Linked DNA regions of Homo sapiens: region 2 is linked to region 1. The links are contacts of gene promoters, found by promoter capture Hi-C in human tissues and cell types (Jung and others, 2019). All regions are on one chromosome and are shown on one strand. The core of a region is centred on a gene start or on the middle of the fragment in contact, and the rest is flanking DNA. Distances in the headings are between cores, read along the strand shown. Region 1 holds the start of PLEK2 (pleckstrin 2). Region 2 has its middle 90 kb from the start of CCDC196.

Region 1 (4,352 bases), core at 401-2,900:
GGCGTGGCGCTTTGTACTGCTCTATCCAGTCTGACCCTTGATCTGGCATCAGCTTCTACCCTCCTTGCTTACTGTTTACAGCAAACAGCCACCGCTCTCCTGTACCAAATAACGTGCAACATCATGTGGACACATTTTGTGGGGAAAATGAAAGTGATGTGAGACTTTAGGGCTGATCCAGCCACCCCGGGAGGCAATGAAAGGAAGGGCCCCTCATCCCTCTTCATTCCCCTCCCAAAGCTGAAAACTCAGTAGAAGAACCAGAAAGCTCAGCCCTGGATTTATATGTCTCTTTGCTATGCCATCATAGCAGTATAAATGGTTAGTGTTAATGTCATTGTTCAAATTACGCTCTGTGTGGTGGCTCACGCCTGTTATCCCAGCACCTTGGGAGGCTAAGGTGGGCAGATGACTTAAACCCGGGAGTTCAAGACCTGCCTGGGAAACATGGCGAAACCCTGTCTCCACAAAAAAATACAAAAATTAGCTGGGCATAGTAGTGGATACCTGTAGTCCCAGCTACTAGGGAAGCTGAGGTGAGAGGACCACCTGAGCCTGGGAAGTCGAGGCTGTGGTGAGCCAGGATTGTGCCACTGCACTCCAGCCTGGGTGACCCTGTCTCAAAAAAAAAAAAAAAAAAAAAAGGTCAAATCAGGAAAAAATTTTGAAATAACAAACTTCCTTTTGCAGCTGCTCTTTTGTTCATCTTCTACCATAATCCCAGGCACTGAGTTTTTGTTTGCACTCGTTTGCCCTGGGCCACCTGGGGTGGTGGGGAAGGACTGAGGAGGGGAGGTCAGAACATGCAGTTCCTGTCCCAGCTATTACTGGCTCTGGAGCTCTGGGCAAGCTACTTCATCTTTCTGGTCCTCAGTTTCCCCGTCTGTAATAGAGTGATGTCAGTACCCACCGTGTATGGCACTGGGGAGGCAGTAAAGGTTTGGGTCAACCTGAGTGGGTCTGATCCCGATCCTGGCTCCACCACCCACTGCCTTCACCGCCCCGAGCAAGTTCCCTAACTCCTCTGGGCTTCGTTTTCCCCCTTGATGAAAGCAGGGCTGCTGGGAGGATGACATGAGACAATATCCAGGGCTGGCCAACAGTAAGTGCTTAAGACACATAGTAGCATTCCTCCTTCACAGGTTGTAAATTACAGAGCACGCCTATATTATCTTAGTAAATATTATTTAAATATCATACCATTCATAATATTTTAACAAGTTTTAATTAAGACACACGCTTCAGTACCCCTGCCCCGACTCCATACTGCGCTAACCAAGTGGGATTCTCCTCCTTGCCTGTGCGCTGAGCCACCGCTTACCCCGCGTCCCCTCGGACATGCAGCTCTGCCCATCAGGGCCACAGGCGGCCCGGTCCCACCATGGGGGTTGGGGATGGGAACCAGAGCATGCCCGTTCCGGGGCGCGCGTCTGGCCCCGCTCTAGGGAGCCGCGTCGGCGGGGCCCCACCCGGGCAATGTCCCGAAGCTCGACGCGCACTCACCCTCTTGACCAGGAAGCCCTCCTTGAGCACGCCGTCCTCCATGTCGCCGCCCGCACGCCAGGGCCACCCCAGGTGCGCCTTCCCCGCGCCTCGCGCTCCTCGGCACCCGCGCAGCCCGCGCAGTCCGCGCCCACGGCGCCCAGGAAGCAGCTCCGACGCGGCAGGGCGACGCCTCCCTGGCGCGTGTCCAGAGCCTGAGGCCCCGGGGCAGGAAGTCAGACCAAGTCGGGATTTCTGACGTGACGTTTCCACCCAAAGGTGCTCCAGGGTCGGTGGTTGGTCCTCCAGGTACAGAGCGGCCAACCCCGCCCCATCCAGGTGCGCCCCGCGCCCCTCACTGTTCCAGTCTCTCTGCTCAGCGTCCTTCGCCAGGTGCTTCCCGGGCACTTAGCGCATTGCCCTCGAGGAACGCTTATCGAATTGAACATAACCGACAGGACTCCAGGATTTGGAGCCATTCCTGAGCTCATTGCAAGTAGGAGATGGGACAGTGGGTGAGCCGAAACTGGTATGGGAATTTTATCCTGGCCTCTGATGGGGGCAGAGAAGACCTCTCAGTAACAGGAAGGTCACAGTTTTAAGGCGGCAGGCACAGTTTGCAGGGCCCCCTGTCCGCAGGATATACCCCGCTCCCTCAAAAAAGATGAAGCCGAAAATTCCATCATTAAGGACAAAATTTAAGGGGGCACCAAGGAGTCCAGTAACCTAGACAAATTATATATAGAGAGAGATGATTGGTTTTTTGGGGTTTTTTGTTTGTTTTTTGAGACAGGGTCTTTCTCTGTCACCCAGGCTGGAGTGCAGTGGTGTGATCATAGCTCACTGCAGCCTTAAACTCTGGGCTTAAGATCCTCCTGCCTCAGCTCCCCAAGTAGCTAGGACTACAGGAGTGCACCACCATGCCTGGCTGGTTTATTTTTATTTTTCGTAGAGATAGGGTGTTGCTATGTTGCCCAGGCTGGTCTTGATTCCTGGCCTCAAGCAATCCTCCGGCCTGGGCTTCCCAAAGTGCTGGGATTACAGGCAAGAGCCACCGTGTAAGACCTAGAAAAATAATATTTTAATGCATTTTTTAAAATCAAAATTAATGTCAAAAAATCCACGATGAACAAAATGCTAACATTTTAAATAGATAGGATCAACAACAATGTTCTATCAGGCCATATTGGAGCCTGGAACAGAAGGAAACTCAGTCAAATAGTACTGATTCTGTCTAACAATCCTTAGAACACAGTCACACATTTTTTTAAAATTTATTTTTATTTATAGAGACAGGGTCTCACTATATTGTCCAGACTGGTCTCGAACTCCTGGGCTCAAGCAGTCCTCCTGCCTCAGCCTCCCAAAGTGCTGGGATTGTGGGCATGAGTCATGGGGCCGGTCCATATTATTTGTGCTCCAGTTTGAAGGGCCCTGTCAGGACTCTTCACCAGGCATGGGAAAGGCCCTCAGATGCCTGTAAGGGAAGAGAAGGCTCTAGAGAGGAAGAAGGTGAACCAGCTTGTGGAAGGCGGGGGGTGCCTTTCAGAACCAGACTGAAGCCAGCTCCCAGGCCAGTCCCTGCCCTGGAGCTCTTGACACAGTGTTGCTTCTACATGTCTGTAGTAGACATATTACATCCCCCCAACCCCACTCCCACCTGCCAGCCCCAAGGAAAACTCGCAGGGTCTGGGTCACTGCGTGCCAGCCCAATGGCCCACTCTAGCCTTCTGCACTAACTGGCCTTCAGACTTCCCAGGAAGCCCCAAAGCAGTGGGGCTTCCATTCCAATTCAGAATGAACATCAGCTGGTCACCTTCTGAAGCCAGGCCTGTAGTAGTAGGTGCTAGGTTTTATCTAAAGTACAACAACCCCATGAGGTGTTTATTATGTCATTTTCCAGTCAAGGAAACTGAATCCAAGTAGTTAAATAACTTGCCCAAGGTTATGCAGCTCCAGGGCATTGCAAATACTCTTGCCTCCTAAGGAATTGTCCCAGCTCTGAAACCTAGCTGGGCTGAAAGCCAGGACTTGAGAGGTTGAGCTGGGAAGTTCTCATCCTCTTCGGCTCTAACTGTGGTCTATCCATCTCCTTCCTCAAAGAGGCTGTCTTGGCCCCACCCAGACACAATCTTCTGAGGCTTAGAAGAAGTGGCATTTTCTTTGGCAGGAGGGGTTCTTGAATGAATTCACAGAAATGGGAATGGGAAAGAGATGGATACCTTCTCCTGGCAGGGCTCCTGCCAGGAAGAAGTTAAGGCACACCTAGAACCTGCTTCCTGTCCTAGGAAACCCCTGGTCCAGCCCACCCTGCCTGACTCACTGGATCTGGGGCATGAGTCATACCCCTTCCTTCCCCAGGCTGTGGTGGCTGAGCCACCAGCCCACCAGGGAACCATGATGACATAAGCCCAACTCACCCATAGGGAAGAGGATGGAGACAGAAGGAAGCAGACAGCAGTAAACAGCTGGGGGAGGGGGCAGGGACGAGCAAGAAGCTTTCAGAGAGACACCCCTCCTCTCCCTCTCAGGCCTGGAGGCTGATGTGGAAGGGTCCCTGGCCCTCTCAGCTCCTCCCCTTTTTGTCCCGAAGGGACAGGGACAGATAATGCCTAGGGTGCTGAGTTGCAGAAAACTATTAGGTCTGTGTTTAAGTATAGGTGACTCACAGCCTGATGTGAGAATCTATCATTAGAGATTCATTCCTTTAGCTTCAGATAAGAATCCCCTGTTTAAGATACATAGAGTGGAAAAGGATAAATCATGGAAACTTATTCACAATAAATGCCTGGACTTCTTGAGTTTACCGGAATCACAGAATCAGAATCTAATCCCTAAAGATCACCAAATCCGGATGCTTCATTTTATAA
Region 2 (4,386 bases), core at 186-2,685, 1.0 Mb before region 1:
TCCACAGAGATCTGTTTCTTACATTATTATTATTGGAAATAATTATTGTAATATTATTATGTAATAAATTTATAAGAAAAAATCCCAACAGGATTCATTTTTACACTAAAAATTGAATATTTTGACATTTGTATTTAATAGAAGAAATGCAAATAGTTGTAAATGTATGAAAAGATGTTCCCCATCACTAGAATGCATTCATTTAGTTCATATAGTGCTTAATATATGTCAGGCACTGCTCTAAGCACCAGGCATCATTCTAAGTCTTTGCAAATGTTATCTCAATTAATCCCAATAATAATCCTATGTGGCAAGTGGTATTATTTTCCCCATTTTTGATGGGAAAGATGAAACTGAAGCACAGAGAATTTATGTAATTTGTGAAGACCACACAGTATGCAGCTAGTACACTGCACAGCCAGGGAACTGGGTCCTAGGTCCATGCTGTTAAGATACTATGCCATGCAATCTTGCCAGGGAAATGCAGGTTCAAACATGATACCATTTTCTACCCATCAGGTCGGCAAAAAAATTTAAATATTGGTAACATCAAGTGCTGGTAAGGATGGGGGCAAATAAATCCTCATATATTCACTCATATATTGTTGCAGCATTTTTTGAAGGTAATCCTGCAGTATGCACTAAAACTTAAAGTACATAAAACCCTCTGTGCAACATTCCACTTTGGGTACTCTAGCCTACAAGAATAAAAGCATCAGTAGAAAAGGCATAATGAAAGTGCAGCATTGCTTGTGGTGATGGCAAAACTGGAAATAAGTGTCTATCACAGGAGCTATGGCTGAATAAATTAAGTTAAGTTACATTCATATTATGGAATAGTATTCAGCTATTATGTGAGTTCAATCTGTATCTCTTGATCCAGAGAAAGTTGCAGTACTGTGTACAATACAATCTCACTTTTTTGTGTGAATTTTTTTAGCCTATTTGACAGTTACCTGAGGAAGTAGGATAGAGCAGAGGAATTACCATCTATATATGTTTATGAATTGTTTGACTTTTTATATAAGCTCATATTGTCTTTACAATTTAAACATCTAATTAAGTTAAAAATACTTATAAATGTAAACATAATAACCAGCCTAGAAAATATGTTTTAGATCTTCAGCTTCACATAGAAAATTATATGAATAATATAGCTTTTCAAATCAAGTGGGAAAGACTCAGATTTGTATTTATAGATACCTCTTACACGTAGGCATTGCAACTTACAGTTTTCAGCAATTACAGAATAAACATTAATTTTCTTTAATGGGCATTTCTGGAAACAGAAAGCAAGAAGGAATAATTTGTTCATTCCTTGTCTAATAGTGTAACTAGACAAAGGAGAGTAATATCACTTTTAAAATCAGTGTATGCTCTACAATCTCTGTGTCTATTCCTTCCGTTCACACTCAAGTATAGAGAGAAGCCATGTTTAGGAGGAAAGTAGAGGGGCTGGTGACATTGAAAGGTTTAAAAAACCCCTCCTTTGATAAAAGGGGAATTAGATACACATTTCTCTGGCTTTAAGTCCCTCTTTCTATGCTCCACGTTGTGTGCAAAGCTCAAAGAAGTAAAGTTGAAATCTGAACTAGTGGCTGAAAATGTTGAGTGCAGCAGGGGTGACAAACAGGAATCTGCCAGCATCATTTGATTTCTGGTTGTGTTAACCACAGGCCCTTCCTGGTCTGGTGAAATTTAAAGTGCTGCTGCCATCTTCAGGAGTTCCCCATTGTCATATTTAAGTATAGTTACAAGTAAGTTGTTTACAGCCTCATAACCCTCTGTGGGAGTTCAGAACCTCAGCTAGAAAACAGACACTCCAGGTGACTGCTAAACTGAAGGAAGCTTAAAGATCATTACCTGTAAGGCAGCTTTTAGTGTGTGTGTTTAATGTTATGAAATGGTATGTTTCTCCCTTTGAGAGGTAATACGAATTAAGATTTAGGGTCCAAAAAAGGACATGACCGAGAAGTGAGCCAAGACTTTAAAAAATAATGGGGGAGGAGGGTTAAGTTATAACACTATAACATTTTGGAAGCATCTACTGGCTTTGAAGACCTATTGAGTCAATCTCCCTGAGGACCACATGTTCAATTTCTACGGCAAACATTAAGTTTAGAGAACATTTGGTCAAAAGGAATCTGTGAGCTTCCATTTTTATATTATTTACTGAGAATTCTGAGCCTGTCTATCTTCTCAGATTGTTTGAGTTACAGATAATTGATAGGAAAGGCCAAATTGTCCAACAGTACTCTCAGGATGAAGCTCTACTTCTTTCCCAAAAATAATTCGACTTCATCACTTAGTGAAGAAAAATTAATGAAGTCCTAAGATGAAAATAAGGCCATCACACTATTTTTCTTCTTGATGATTAGAGATGCTGATACCCACAAATGGTCGTGGAAGTCCGTGAGAATGTGTATATCCCTGGTGGCCCTCAGGGAGGCAGTTGTCCGATCTTCAGGTCATGATACTACAATGTCATAAGCAAATGCTTTTTTTGAGACATTGAAGTTTTCATAAAGCTCACTTCACATTGTTCTTTTTTGTTTACTCATCATTTTAGGCAATCTTAAGTTCTCATAGCAAGTTGGAAAGTACCTTATACAGCCCATTTTTGCTGCTGATTTACATTATTAAAGCAAAGAGTAAAATTCCTTTAAAGTCACCTTTAGAAAAATTTCACATCATTTTAGGAGATATCCAAGTTTCCTTTCATCACAAATAATTAAAAAGTGGATATGGCATCACGCTACCTGACTTCAAACTATACTACAAGGCTACAGTACCAAAACAGCATGGTACTGGTACCAAAACAGAGATATAGACCAATGGAACAGAACAGAGCCCTCAGAAATAATGCCGCATATCTACAACCATCTGATCTTTGACAAACCTGACAAAAACAAGAAATGGGGAAAGGATTCCCTATTTAATAAATGGTGCTGGGAAAACTGGCTAGCCATATGGAGAAAGCTGAAACTGGATCCCTTCCTTACACCTTATACAAAAATTAATTCAAGATGGATTAAAGACTTACATGTTAGACCTAAAACCATAAAACCCCTGGAAGAAAACCTAGGCAATACCATGCAGGACATAGGCATGGGCAAGGACTTCATGTCTAAAACACCAAAAGCAATGGCAACAAAAGCCAAAATTGACAAATGGGATCTAATTAAACTAAAGAGCTTCTGCACAGCAAAAGAAACTACCATCAGAGTGAACAGGCAACCTACAAAATGGGAGAAAATTTTTGCAACCTACTCATCTGACAAAGGGCTAATATCCAGAATCTACAATCAATTCAAACAAATTTACAAGAAAAAACAAACAACCCCATCAAAAAGTGGGTGAAGAATATGAACAGACACTTCTCAAAAGAAGACATTTATGCAGCCAAAAGACACATGAAAAAATGCTCATCATCACTGGCCATCAGAGAAATGCAAATCAAAACCACAATGAGATACCATCTCACACCAGTTAGAATGGCAATCATTAAAAAGTCAGGAAACAACAGGTGCTGGAGAGGATGTGGAGAAATAGGAACACTTTTACACTGTTGGTGGGACTGTAAACTAGTTCAACCATAGTGGAAGTCAGTGTGGCGATTCCTCAGGGATTTAGAACTAGAAATACCATGTGACCCAGCCATCCCATTACTGGGCATATACCCAAAGGACTATAAATCATGCTCCTATAAAGACACATGCACACGTATGTTTATTGTGGCACTATTCACAATAGCAAAGACTTGGAACCAACCCAAATGTCCAACAACGATAGACTGGATTAAGAAAATGTGGCACATATACACCATGGAATACCACGCAGCCATAAAAAACGATGAGTTCATGTCCTTTGTAGGGATGTGGATGAAGCTGGAAATCATCATTCTCAGCAAACTATCGCAAGGACAAAAAACCAAACACCGCATGTTCTCACTCATAGGTGGGAATTGAACAACGAGAACACATGGACACAGGAAGGGGAACATCACACTCCGGGGACTGTTGTGGGGTGGGGGGAGAGGGGAGGGATAGCATTAGGAGATATACCTAATGCTAAATGATGAGTTAATGGGTGCAGTACACCAACAAGGCACGTGTATACATATGTAACAAACCTGCACATTGTGCACTTGTACCCTAAAACTTAAAGTATAATAATAATAAAATAAAATAAATACATAAAATAAATAAAAAGAAAAAAAACAAAATGAAGTGTCAGGAAAAATTTAAAAAAAAGTGGATATGGAATGAGATGATTATAATATGTATCTAGCACCATGATAGATATATCATCAGCATGGCACTTCAGAAACTTTGCTGTATATAGCAGATTGTTTGTGTCTTCTGAAATTTTCCCTTGGAGTTATTC

Evidence for each region. Contacts are between HindIII fragments. The study calls those that stand out against the background at their distance.
Region 2: a contact is called between a fragment that was not itself captured here and the fragment with the promoter of PLEK2 in region 1, in 1 of the 25 tissues and cell types used here (lymphoblastoid cells).

Annotation. Positions count from the first base shown.
Region 1 is chr14:67,410,515-67,414,866 of GRCh38, forward strand. It overlaps PLEK2 (pleckstrin 2), which reads right to left and starts at 1,651. Exons shown (of 9, transcript NM_016445.3): 1 at 1,504-1,651. The coding sequence starts at 1,545. It also overlaps a transcript of GPHN not described here. The HindIII fragment of the contact is 7,301 bases long and covers 1-4,352 here.
Region 2 is chr14:66,393,809-66,398,194 of GRCh38, forward strand. No RefSeq gene overlaps it. Among named protein-coding and RNA genes, the nearest start is that of CCDC196, 90 kb to the right of the region's middle. The HindIII fragment of the contact is 7,387 bases long and covers 1-4,386 here.